Linked DNA regions of Homo sapiens: regions 1 and 2 are each linked to region 3. Evidence: promoter capture Hi-C in human tissues and cell types (Jung and others, 2019). All regions are on one chromosome and are shown on one strand. The core of a region is centred on a gene start or on the middle of the fragment in contact, and the rest is flanking DNA. Distances in the headings are between cores, read along the strand shown. Region 1 overlaps KCTD2 (potassium channel tetramerization domain containing 2). Region 2 overlaps ATP5PD (ATP synthase peripheral stalk subunit d). Region 3 holds the start of LLGL2 (LLGL scribble cell polarity complex component 2).

Region 1 (4,000 bases), core at 1,024-3,523, 470 kb before region 3:
TTTCTGGCTCTAGGCCAGGTATGGTGGCTCACGCCTGTAATCCCAGCACTCTGGGAGGCTGAGGAGGGCAGATCACTTGAGGTCAGGAGTTCAAGACCAGCCTGGCCAACATGGTGAAACCCTGTCTACTGGCCGGGCGTGGTGGCTCATGCCTGTAATCCCAGCACTTTGGGAGGCCGAGGCAGGTGGATCACCTGAGGTCAGGAGTTCAAGACGAGCCTGACTAACATGGAGAAACCCTGTCTCTACTAAAAATACAAAAGTAGCTGGGGTGGTGGCACATGCCTGTAATCCCAGCTACTTGGGAGGCTGAGGCAGGAGAATGGCTTGAACCCGGGAGGAGGAGGTTGTGGTGAGCCGAGATCACGCCATTGCACTCCAGCCTGGGCAACAGGAGCGAAACTCCCATCTAAAAAAAAAAAAAGAAAGAAAGAAACCCTGTCTACTAAAAATACGAAAATTGTCTGAGTGTGGTAGCGGGCGCCTATAATCCCAGCTACTTGGGAGGCTGAGGCAGGAGAATCGCTTGAACTAAGATAGCAGAGGTTGCAGTGAGCTGAGATGGCACCACTGCACCCCAGCCTGGGCAACAGAGTGAGACTCCATCTCAAAAAAAAAAAGTTTTCTGGCTCTAACTGGAATATTTGGATGAATAACTGACACTAATGATGAAAAATTAACTCTTTTATCCACTTTATCTCCAGCAGTTTGCAAAAGTGAAGAGAAGGGCTTATTCATTTAGTTTTCTTCCATCTAGCTGACAGCTCAAAGGCTCCTTTTTGATGTTCAAAGGTGGCTTTGTAGTTGGTTTGCAGATTACCACTTGGAATGTGATCCAGTGTCACCAGTCTCTTTGCTATCTTACCTTTACGTGGTATCTTTCACTATTGTAGATATTTAATAGTTTAGACATTTTGGTAATCTAGCCTTATCCTCAGTTTCCCACATTCTAAAAAAATGATTGCTTACTATAGATTTTAAAGTACCATGAATTATGTAATTTGAAATGATTCAAGTCATGGTACCTGAACATTCTCCCTTCTTCGTCATTAGCTAATTCCTGGAGAGCATTATAAGATTTCTGTTTGATGACCGCAATTAAATTAATTAGTCTTCTAGATTCTGAAGGCTTGTGGATTTATACCCCTTTGGAAGCTTTTTTGTTCTAGGAATGTCAAGACCTTTTTGATGTTAACTATCTTTCCATCTGTCCTTTTTATGTAGTGAAACTGAAAAATGGATTTGATGTTATTCAAAGACACCCTCTTTTATACTTGTTGTATGTGGCTCTAAGATGAAGTTGGCTGTGTGTGGATTTTCGTTTTGTTTCATTTTGTATTTTTCTTTATTTTTTTGTGTGTGGATTTTCAAACATGTTACCTCCTTGAACTTACCTGTAGCCCCTCACACATGCAGGATTCAAGCCAAGCCCAAGATGTGGGCCTCAACCCTACCTTCGGTTTCATGACCTCTTAGCTCTTAGTGGCTGCCACCTAACTACTTTCCTCTGTTTCTTTTTTTTTCTTTTTTCTTTTTTTTTTTTTTTTTTTGGAGACAGAGTCTCGCTGTGTTGACCAGGCTGGAGTGCAGTGATGCGATCTCAGCTCACTGCAACCTCTGCCTCCTGGGTTCCAGCGATTCACCTGCCTCAGCTTCCCGAGTAGCTAGATTACAGGTGTGCACCACCACGCCCGGCTAATTTTTGTATTTTTAGTAGAGACAGGGTATCCCCATGTTGGCCACACTGGCCTCAAACTCTTGATCTTAGGCGAGCCACCAACCTCAGCCTCCCAAAGTGCTGGGATTACAGGCGTGAGCAACCATACCCAGACTCCTATTTCTTAGAATAGTATTTTTTGTAGGTGATTGATCCTGGTGCATTTGAGAGCACAAGTGGTTTACTTTGGAAGGGAGAAAAAAGAGGCAGTATAATGGCATCTTAAATACCTGGGACTTTGACAGCTGTGGCCAACATCACAGATCTTTTGTGATACTCTGAATTTTGTACTTATACAATTGGTTTCCAAAATAAGTGGTTACAACCAATTAAAATCTTCAGAGGATTTGTACTATATGTAATATGGAAGGAAATCTTTGAAATCCTTAGTACTTTGGTTAATGATAGCTATACCTCTTTTTTTTTTTTTTTTTTCCTCGAGGCAGAGTCTTACTCTGTCGCCCAGGCTGGAGTGCAATGGCGCGATCTCAGCTCGCTGCAACTTCTGCCTCCGGGGTTCAAGCAGTTCTCCCGCCTCAGCCTCCCGAGTAGCTGGGATTACAGGCACGTGCCACCTCACCTGGCTAATTTTTTGTGTTTTTAGTAGAGATGGGGTTTCACCATGTTGGCCAGGCTGGTCTTGAACTCCCAACCTCAGATGATCCGCCCACCTCGGTCTCCCAAAGTGCTGGGATTATAGGCGTGAGTCACTGCACCCGGCGATCGTTATACCTCTTTTGGAAGAAAACATAGAAGAAAAAATACAGCATTGTCGGCCGGACACAGTGGCTCATGCCTGTAATCCCAGCACTTTGGGAGGCCTAGGTGGGTGGATCGCCTCAGGTCAAGACCAGCCTGGCCAACATGGCGAAATCCCGTCTCCACTAAAAATCCAAAAAAATTGGCTGGGCACAGTGGCTCATGCCTGTAATCCCAGCACTTTGGGGGCCCAAGGCGGGCGGATCACCTGAGGTCAGGAGTTTGAGACCAGCCTGGCCAACATGGTGAGACTTCGTCTCTACTAAAAATACAAAACTTAGCCAAGCGTGGTGGTGGGCGGCTGTAATCCCAGCTATTCAAGAGGCTGCTGAAGCAGGAGAATCGCTTGAACTCGGGAGGCGGAGATTGCAGTGAGCTGAGATGGTGCCATTGCACTCCAGCCTGGGCGACAGAGCGAGACTCTCTCAAAAAAAAAAAAGGAAAAAAAAATAAAAAATTAGCTGGGCGTAGTGGCACATGCCTGTAATCCCAGCTACTCGGGAGGCTGAGGCAGGAGAATCGCTTGAACCAGGGAGGTGGAGGTTGCAGTGAGCCAAGATCACCCCACTGCACTCCAGACTGGGCAACAGAGCGAGACTCCATCTCAAAAATAATAATAAGGCTGGGTGCGGTGGCTCATGCCTGTAATCCCAGCACTTTGGGAGACCAGGGCAGGTGGATCATGAGGTCAGGAGTTCAAGACCAAGCCTGGCCAACATGGTGAATCCCCTTCTCTACTAAAAATACAAAAATTAGCCAGGCTTAGCGGCAGGCGCCTGTAATCCCAGCTATTCGGGAGGCTGAGGCGGGAGAATCGCTTGAACCGGGGAGGCGGAGTTGCAGTGAGCTGAGATCGCGCCACTGTACTCCAGCCTGGGCGACAGAGTGAGACTGTGTCTTAAAAAATAATAATAAATAGGCCGGGCGCGGTGGCTCATGCCTGTAATCCCAGCACTTTGGGAGGCCGAGGCGGGTGGATCACGAGGTCAGGAGATCGAGACCATCCTGGCTAACACAGTGAAACCCCGTCTCTACTAAAAAATACAAAAAATTAGCCGGGCGTGGTGGCGGGTGCCTGTAGTCCCAGCTACTTGGGAGGCTGAGGCAGGAGAATGGCGTGAACCTGGGAGGCAGAGCCTGCAGTGAGCCAAGATTGCACCATTGCACTCCAGCCTGGGCGACAGAGCGAGACTCCGTCTCAAAAATAAATAAATAAAATTATAATAATAATAAATAATAATAATTTTACCTTATTTTTGACTTGGGGAAATGGATTAAATCTAAGTTTGTTGGCATAGTTGCTCAAGCATTCATCCCTCTGAAGTTCAGAATTATTTTACCTTTTTTATTCTTTCACTCTTTGGATATGTTTTTATTGAAAAGCCACAGTATGCTGGCTTGTGGTCACTTAAAAAGAAAAACATTTTTTAAAGAGAAGGGAAAAAAAGAAACGCCACAGTACTATTTGTAAAAGGGGATAGTGGGTGGCTGCCAAGAAAAGATTTCCAAGCAAACTCCTTTTCA
Region 2 (4,354 bases), core at 507-3,006, 480 kb before region 3:
AACCATCCCCAGGCAGCCACTGTAGACAAACTACATTTTCTAGAGTCTTACAAAGATGGAATCATATGCTATACTCTTCTTTTTCTTGTTGGCTTCTTTCACTCCGCATAATTATTTTGAAATTCGTCCATGTTGTTGCATTTATTGACAAGTCATTCCTTTATATGGCTGTTAACTCTTCCATTTAATTCACTCTAACTTAACTTAGCTATAATAGAGAGCTGTCAAGATCAAGAGAATTTTAGAATAAGCAGGAGCCTCAACTACTTACATCTTCTTTTTCTTCGGCATCCACCTGGGCAGTATATTTATCCTCTGGCACGGGAACCTTCAGCGCATTAAACTACAAACACAAGGGCACGGGAACCTTCAGCGCATTAAACTACAAACACAAGGACAGTGAGTCGTCGCCAATACACCCAGGAGCTCAAAGGGCTGGAAGCTACGAATCCTTAAAGGTCATACTGAAAGACATTCTGTGTCCCAAGCGGAAACGAATACGCATCTCAATACTGGAGTAGAAAGAATATTAGACTGGGAACAGGAGCTCAAGGGTCTTCTCAGCCCTATCACTAACTCGGAACCCTGGACAATTCTTTATGATGATAAGCTTCATTTTCTTCATCTGAAAAGGACAGCTGGACTTGATGACCAAAAAATGGCCTCTTAGCACCTTGAATTGTAAAGAAATTCTGATTTCTCTTCTGCATGGAACCCTAGGGAGCTGACTGGTGGAAGGAGCACTGCGTAATGAATGGTCTCCTTAGAAGACTGCTTAGTGTTAGCCGGGTGCGGTGGCTCATGCCTGTAATCCCAGCACTTTGGGAGGCTGAGGCGGGCGGATCACCTAAGGTCGGGAGTTCGAGACCAGCCTGACCAACATGGTGAAACCCCGTCTCTACTAAAAATACAAAAATTAGCTGTGCAAGGTGGCCAGCACCTGTAGTCCCAGCTACATGGGAGGCTGAGGCAAGAGAACTGCTTGAACCTGGGAGGCGGAGATTGCAGTGAGCTGAGATGGCCCCACTGCACTCCAGCCTGGGCGACAGAGCAAGACTCCGTCTCAAAAAAAAAAAAAAAAGACTGCTTAGTGTTATGGCTCCAGCACTTAACACTACCTGGCACAGAGTAGGCCCTCCATACACATCTTTGAATGAATAAGCAAATGAACTCTGGATATTGAGACTTGTGTAAATATCAGAGGAGGATAGATGGATGAGAAATTACAGCTATAAGGGACAGTTAAAAAAAGCAGAGGCTGGGCATGGTGGCTCACACCTGTACTCCCAGCACTTTGGGAGGCCAAGGAGGGTGGATCACCTGAGCTCAGGAGTTCGAGACCAGTCTGGGCAACATGGCGAAACCCCGTCTCTACCAAAAATACAAAAAATTAGCCAGGCATGGTGGTGCTGTGGTCCCAGTTACTCGGGGGGATGAGGTGGGAGGAAGGCTTGAGCCCGGGAGAAAGAGGTTGCAGTGAGCTGAGATGGCGCCACTGCACTCCAACCTGAGTGACAGAGTGAGACTCCAACTCAAAAAAAAAAAAAAAAGAAGAGCAGAGAGGTGGATTGCCTGAGCCCAGAGTTTGAGACCAGCCTGAGCAATATGACAAAAACCTGTCTCTACCAAAAAAAAAAAAAAAACAAAACGAAAATTTATCAGGTGTGGTGGTGGCATGCACCTGTAGTCCCAGCTACTCAGGAGGCTAAGACAGAAGGATGGCTTGAGCTTGGGAGGCAGAGGCTGCAGTAAGCTGAGATTGCGCCACTGCACTCCACCCTGGGTGACAGAGCAAAACTCCGTCTCAAAAGAAAAAGGACAGGAAAAGAGTAGAAAAAAAGTCAGTTTGTTCCAAAGGGAGACAGGAAGGAAGCTAAAAGGAACCCAGGAGGTGGGCAAACATTTAACTTGAAAGCCCCCTGGGGCGTGGTGGCGCATGCCTGGCTGAGGCACGTGGATTGCTTGAGCCCAAGAGTTCTGGGCTGTAGCGCGTTATGCCGATCGGGTGTCTTCACCAAGTTCAGCATCAATATGGTGACCTCCCAGGAGCGGGGGACCACCAGGTTGCCTAAGAAGGGGTGAACCGGCCCAGGTCAGAAACAGAGCAGGTCAAAACTCCTGTGCTGATCAGAAAGCCCTCTGGCTCCCAGATTAAGGCTACACTCTACTGCTGAATGAACAGAGCCTAAATTCCTGCACCTATTTACAGTTCAATCGACCACAAGGCCTTTGGCCATACGCATCCTTCCTAAGCTTCCTTAGGGATCTGGCTGTCATGCTGTGTATGTAATTATCCCTGTTCCTGCTCCCTACCCACAGGCATGTTACAAGCTCAGTGCTTTAGAGGTGTGAAGTCTCACCTTCTTCTCAAAGTCATCCACCAAGCCAGCCTTGGCCACATTGGCCTTGTAGTAAGCCCAGTCGATAGCTGGTGGATTCTCAGGTAAAGCAGCCAACCTGCCCACAAGGAAAGGCAAAAGTTAGGATTGTTCATAAGCAGTAGAAAATTCACATGGTAATTTTCCTATCCCTTCTTCCTATGGCCTGGAGGGTCACCACACTTTCCTCTCCTAAGATCATCATGAAAATGCAAGGATTTCTTTATATGTTGTCATAAGGGCATCAAGAATTCATATGTAATTCCTTAATACTGTTTTGTTTCTAGATTCAGTGGCAAGTATGGGGTTCCCTCTCAGAAACATACTGACCTGGAGGTGAGGGTCTCATTCCAGGATTTCAGGGAACTAGCAATGGCCTTTTGGTTCTGGGGTATGATCTCTGCAAAAGCTACCCAGTCAATGGTTTTTAGAGCAAGTTTTCGCCCAGCCATTTTGGGATCCTGAAAAATAAGTCAAATAAAAACAAGGCTTTTTTATGAGGTGAATTTTCAGTTGGGAAAAATGATAAATAACAAAATAAGAGCTCTTAGAGAGAATCCTTTAAATCTTAGAAACATGCAAGTCTTCACAAGAATCACTTGAACCCAGGAGGTGGAGGTTGCAGTGAGTCGAGACTGCATCACTGCACTCCAGCCTGGGAGACACAGCAAGACTCCAACTCAAAAAAAAAGAAAAAAAGACAGTGTAGCTTTTCAAATTCAAGGTAATTCAAGGTGTGCGGCCAGGCGCAGTGGGCTCACGCCTGTAATCCCAGCACTTTGGGAGGCCAAGACGGTTGGATCACCTGAGGTCAGGAGTTCGAGACCAGCATGGCCAACATGGCAAAACCCCATCTCTATTAAAAATACAATAATTAGCCAGCCGTGGTGGCCCGCGCCATAATCCCAGCTACTCCAGAGGCTGAGGCATAAGAATCACTTGAACCCAGGAGGCAGAGGTTGTAATGAGCTGAGATGGCATCAGTGCACCCTAGCCTGGGCAACACAGCAAGAGTCCGTCTCAAAAAGAAAAGGAAAGGACAGTGTAGCTTTTCAAATTCAAAGTGTGCAATGTGGCATACAAATACATTCTCTCCCAACTCCTATTTAGCCTTAAAAGCCCAGCTCTCTTGGCCGGGCGCAGTGGCTCATTTCTGTAATCCCAGCACTTTGGGAGGCTGAGGTGGGTGGATCACTTGAGGTCAGGAGTTCAAGACCAGCCTGAGCAATAGGGTGAAACCCTGCCTCTACTAAAAAATACAAAAATTAGCCGGGCGTGATGGCATGCACCTGTAGTCCCAGGTACTCAAGAGGCTTAGACAGGACAATCACTTGAACCTGGGCGGCGGAGGTTGCAGTGAGCTGAGATAGCGCCATTGCACTCCAGCCTGGACACAGAGTGAGACTCTGTCTCAAAAAAAAAAAAAAAAACAAACCCCAGCTCTCTTTATCCCCTCCATGTGCCTCTGGAAAAATTACTAAAAATAACACTCTTATTGCATAAAAGTTAATAAAGACATTTCCACCCAGATTGTGTTTTATTCACTGATTCTCCAGTAGACAGAAACTGACACACACCTAAGTTTCAACAAGCCTTAAATAGAGCACTCTCTAGGCTAAAATTTACTTATGTGTACAATGGGCATTATCAGTCCTGCTTGCCCCAGAGGGCTGCTAAAAGTGTCACATGAAATTGTGCACAGCAACTTGCTCCAGAGTTTTACAAACTTAAAAGGGCTATCCCCTTCCAACTAGATTGGTAATACACCTGCACCTTCTTATTCACATCGGATTATACCCTAGCAGCACCAGCACACGTTGTGCACTTTTTTTTTTTTTTTTTTTGAGATGGAGTTTCACTCTGTCCCCCGGGCTGGAGTGCAGTGGCATCATCTTGGCTCACTGCAACCTCCACCTCCCAGGCTCAAGCGATTCTCCTGCCTCAGCCTCCGGAGTAGCTGGGATTACAGGCACCCA
Region 3 (4,655 bases), core at 751-3,250:
TTTGATGTTTACCAGGCCGACGCTGTGGCCACATTCCGAAAGAATAACCCTGGCAAACCCTATGCCCGGATGTGCATTAGTGGGTACGCAGTGAGCCAGCACTGCCCCTCCCCCAGCTGCTGCCAGTTCTCCTGTGAACCAAGTGGGACTCCTCTGTACTCCCCTGGCCAGCGTGCCAATCTCTGAGAGGAACAGGAGGTCCAGAGAGGCTAAGTGACCTACACAAGGCCACACAGCCAGTTTGTGCTGCCCTACTCTGAGCTCCTCGTTGCTGGCATTTTAGGGTAGTCTTTCTCCAATGCCATTTTAGTCTAGGACTCACCCAGCAGAAGGGATGTGGATTGTGGGGATTTACAGGCTAAGAGTGGTGAGCACCTTGCTCTTCCTAGCACCTCCCCAACCAGTGCTCTGGGGCGCTCTTCATCAGAGCCCTGTGTTTTGGAGACAGAACTCATGGGTCAGAATTCTTGCACCCCAACTCCTTCCGTAGAATCTCTTCTCTGGGAGCCCTAGAGCTTAGGAGTGGGCTATGGCTGGGTCTCACTCTAACCCTTTGTCCCTGCAGATTTGATGAGCCTGTCCCAGACCTCTGCAGCCTCAAGCGGTTGTCTTACCAGAGTGGGGATGTCCCTCTGATCTTTGCCCTGGTGGATCATGGTGACATCTCCTTCTACAGCTTCAGGGACTTCACGTTGCCCCAGGATGTGGGGCACTGACCTCACAGCTCTGCAGAGGATGGAGCTTGCTCCGGGGGACCGGGACTGTCTGTTCTCAGGGACCATCTCGGCTGCCTCCTGTACCCAGACTCTAACCTGTAGCTTCAGAGGCCAGTCTGGGCCTTGGCCCTGGGTGTCTGATACTCACAGAGTGAAACTGTGACCCTCTCCCTTCCCTGCTGCCTTGCAGTGACCCCTCTGGAACTCAGGACTCGATTTTAAGGACCCAGGAGGTGGGGCAGAAGAGAGGACTGTGTGCCTTTAACGAGAGGGTGCCTGCTTCGTGCTATAAAGCCAAAGCCATTAAAAATAGATTTCTTTTCTGCTGTTTCTGTATGTACTGGGTAAACCCCTCTCGCCCCCGTCCCGTTGTCAGTGGAACTGCCCCCAGCCCCTCACCCCTGCTTTGCCCACTCAAGGAGATCCGCTTCCTCTGGTGCGGGATCTAAGAGTGAGAGAAGCCCGCGGGATAGCAGGAACGCGACCTCGAACCTTTTGAGCCTTTCCCGGGCCTGCGTCGGAGGGGATGGGACGTCGCAGGCTTCCCGAAGGGAGGAGGGAGGACGGCGCGCCATCGGCCCTTCCCTGGGCGCAGCGGGGTGCGGGTGGCGAGAGGCGCCACCTGCAGCTGGGCGGTGGAGCGCGCTGCAGCCCCGGCCTCCGCGCCCTTTCCGCTCCCGCCTCTCGTCGCTCCAACCTCCTCCCTCGCTTGTGCTAAAAATTCCACCCGCTGTTGCAGACCCTCCGGCCGACACGGAGGAGGTGGGCGCCCCCCCGCACCCCCCCCCGAGGAAAGGCGTCTCGCCGCGACGCCCCGGTCCCTACACCATCCCTCTCGTGGGGCTGGAAACCCGGCCCTGCGTCCCCCGGTCACCCTCTCTGGGCTGGGCTCTGGCAGAGGAGCTGGCCCGGATCCGCCCCTCCCTCGGCAGCTCCCGGGAGTTGGAGGGACGGCTCCCCTGGAGTCTGGGAGGCGGCCCGGGACCGCAGGCGTTCCGGGAACTATTTCCGCTTGCGGGAGGCGGCGGGACACTGGGCGCGGCGCGCCGTTCTGCGTCCAGGTGCGCGCAGGTGAGGCCGGGGCGGGCCTGCGGAACCCCGAGGCCGTTCGCGAGGCCCCGCCCCGCGCTTCCCGGGGCCGCGGATTGGCAGGAGCGCAGCCCCCACCCCCGAGGGTGCCCCCGCCCCTGCGGCGCCGAGCTGGGGGGCGGGCCGGGGGCGGGGCGCTGGGCCCCGGCAGGCTCGCCCTTTATGTAAATAGCGCGGCTCCGCCCCAGGCTCGCCGCGCCGGAGGTGAGCAGGAAGGAGACGGCCGCCCAGCAGCCCGTGGGCAGGCGCGGCGGAGCGAGCGGGGCCGGCGGCGGGCGCCGAGGGACGCCGAGGCCTCGGGCGGGGGCTGGCCCGGGGTTCCAGGTGAGATGCGTGCCGGACTCGCCCAGCCGGGCCCGCCCCCTCGGGGCTTCCACCTGGGGCGGGGAGGCCAGGGAGGCCCAGGACCCCTGGGCTGTCGGGCCAGGGCGGGAGGGCTGCGCCCAGGTCCGCGCGCCTCGCCCCTGTCCGCGTCGCTGTGCTGGCCTGGAAGAGAGACACCTGTAGAAAGTTCTGCGGGAAACTTCTCTGCCTGATCTGCGCGATGACTGAAACTTGGGCTTGGGTTTGCACAATAATGTTGGCTTAGGAGAGCAGGAGAACAGGTGCCCCGGCCGGCTGGGTGCGGGGGGCACCGCGGGCAGAGACGGAGTCCCCGGGCCCACGTGCAGGCGCCAGGCCAGCGGGGTTGGCGACGCGCGTCTGCGGTGACCCCCTCCCCACGGGCGGCGGCCGGAGCGCGGTGCCCCGGCGGCTTAGCCCCTGCCCCTGCCATCTGGGCTGTGTCCCTGCCGGCCCTTTGTGCCTCCTAATCCCCGGACGCAGGAAGCCCGCGGGAGGGACTTCGGTCTCCGGCCTTTCTCCAGCTGGGGCGGCTTTGGACACCTTCACATGACAGTGCGGAGACCCAGTCTGCCCTCCATGCTGACGGGCGGGGTTTGCGCTGTGGGATTTGGCGAGAAGTGGAAAATTCTATCTTGCCAAAGAAAGTGTGTCTTAGTTTGTTCCGGCTGGACGATTGGTGGACACGCTGGGCCTTGGCTGTGGGGAGAACTGACCTAACCAGGGGAGCTGTAGAGTGGCGCTTTGAGGCTCTCACCTGAACAGGTGAGCTTTGAGTGAGGAGGGCGCCCCTTCCCCTGGGGATCCGTATGCGACTGCCGGCAGCCTTAACCTGGGCTCCAGGGACCCCCTGCTGGAGTTTGTAGTTCAAGAGAACCTTGAGTTCTCTTGAAGGGGCTACAGAGAGGATTCTGAGCAGGGAGCGGGCAGGGAGGGAATGGGTGTGTCAAGGTGACAAGGAAACGCTGGTAGGAAGAGCAGAGCTGCCACAGAAGAGCTGTGGCCCAGCCCGGGGGAAGCCAAGGTCAGAAGTGGCAGTTGAGGCTGGGTGCATTGGCTCACAGCTGTAATCCCAGCACTTTGGGAAGCCAAGGCAGGAGGATCGCCTGAGCCCAGGAGTTTGAGACCAGCCTGGGCAACATAGTGAGACCTCGTCTCTGCAAATAATAAAAAAAGTTAGCCAGGCATGGTGGCGTGCACCTGTAGTCCCAGCTACTCAGGAGCCTGAGGTGGGAGGATTGCCTGAGCCCAGGAGGTGGAGGTTGCAGTGAGTCATGATGGCGCCACCACACTCCAGCCTGGGGACAGAGTGAGACCCTGTCTCAAAAAAAAAAAAAAAAAGTGGCATTTGAGGAAAACTGTCTGGGTCTGTGTGAGCAGAGGCACAAGGAGAACTGTGCGAGAGATGTCTCAGCTTTATTTTATGAACTGGGATTTGGGGTTTAGTTTTCTTAGGCGATCTTCCCACAGTGCTAGCTGTGGCAGACAGAACTCAAACTCAGCTCTTAAGCTTCTAATCAGAGTTCACTCCTTTCCTCTGAAGTTAGACTGGGCCCATCTTTGTGGGGGCTCCTGGACAGGGTTTCCGGGGTCCAGGGTCATTTGGCATCCCCATTCTTCCTTGAGGCAAGGGAGTTTCCCCTTTGGTGTCAGATTAATATGCTTTTAATTATATTAAAATGACACTACATTCATAAATAAGAAATAAAATAGAAAAAAGTAACTTTTTTCTCTTTTTTTTTCTTTTTTTTAAACTAAGTTGACCAAATTCTTTTTTTCTTTAATAATATGTTTTTTAATTTGTAGAGATGGGATCTCACCATATGTTGCCCAGGCTGGTCTCAAACTCCTGGACTCAAGTGACCCTCACACTTCAGCCTCCCAAAGCGTTGGGATTACAGGTGTAAGCCACTGTGCCCAGCTGTTAGTAACTTTTTTTTTTTCTTTTTTTGAGGCAGAGTCTTGCTCTGTCACCCAGGCTGGAGTGCAGTGGTGCAATCACTGGGAGATGGAGGCTCACTGCAGACTCGACCTCCCAGGCTCAAGTGATCCTCCCACCTCAGCCTTCTGAGTAGCTGGGACTACAAGCGCGCAGCACCATGCACAGCTAATTTTCTATTTTTTTTTTAGAAAGGGGGTTTTGCCATGTTGCCCAGGCTAGTCTTGAACTCCTGGGCTCAAGTGATCCTCCTGCCTCCCAAAGTGTTAGGATTACAGGCATGAACTGCCACGCCAGACCCGTTAGTATAAATAACTTTTTATTATTTTTATTTATTTATTTATTTATTTTGAGACAGAGTCTCGCTCTGTCACCCAGGCTGGAGTGCAGTGGCGAGATCTCGGCTCACTGCAAGCTCCTCCTCCTGGGTTCACGCCATTCTCCTGCCTCGGCCTCCCGAGTAGCTGGGACCACAGGCGCCTGCCATCACGCCCGGCTAATTTTTTGTATTTTTAGTAGAGATGGGGTTTCACTGTGTTAGCCAAGATGGTCTCGATCTCCTGACCTCG

What was found. The method cuts DNA at HindIII sites, captures the fragments that hold promoters and counts their contacts. A contact is called where the count stands out against the background at its distance.
Region 1: a contact is called between a fragment that was not itself captured here and the fragment with the promoter of LLGL2 in region 3, in 1 of the 25 tissues and cell types used here (pancreas).
Region 2: a fragment that was not itself captured here is called in contact with the fragment with the promoter of LLGL2 in region 3 in 2 of the 25 tissues and cell types used here (IMR-90 fibroblasts and dorsolateral prefrontal cortex).

The regions. Positions count from the first base shown.
Region 1 is chr17:75,055,422-75,059,421 of GRCh38, forward strand. The region is part of intron 3 of KCTD2 (potassium channel tetramerization domain containing 2); the gene reads left to right. Among named protein-coding and RNA genes, the nearest start is that of KCTD2, 10 kb to the left of the region's middle. The HindIII fragment of the contact is 3,987 bases long and covers 281-4,000 here.
Region 2 is chr17:75,039,821-75,044,174 of GRCh38, forward strand. ATP5PD (ATP synthase peripheral stalk subunit d) reads right to left here. Exons shown (of 6, transcript NM_006356.3): 2 at 2,709-2,839; 3 at 2,361-2,457; 4 at 272-343. The coding sequence starts at 2,830. It also overlaps a transcript of KCTD2 not described here and the pseudogene RN7SL573P. Among named protein-coding and RNA genes, the nearest start is that of ATP5PD, 5.0 kb to the right of the region's middle. RefSeq lists an enhancer at 1,447-2,017. The HindIII fragment of the contact is 3,720 bases long and covers 1-3,616 here.
Region 3 is chr17:75,523,697-75,528,351 of GRCh38, forward strand. LLGL2 (LLGL scribble cell polarity complex component 2) reads left to right here and starts at 2,001. Exons shown (of 26, transcript NM_001031803.2): 1 at 2,001-2,129. It overlaps TSEN54 (tRNA splicing endonuclease subunit 54), which reads left to right. Exons shown (of 11, transcript NM_207346.3): 10 at 1-83; 11 at 566-1,039. The coding sequence ends at 716. RefSeq lists silencers at 1,367-1,466, 1,487-2,206, 1,523-1,707. The HindIII fragment of the contact is 8,139 bases long and covers 1-4,655 here.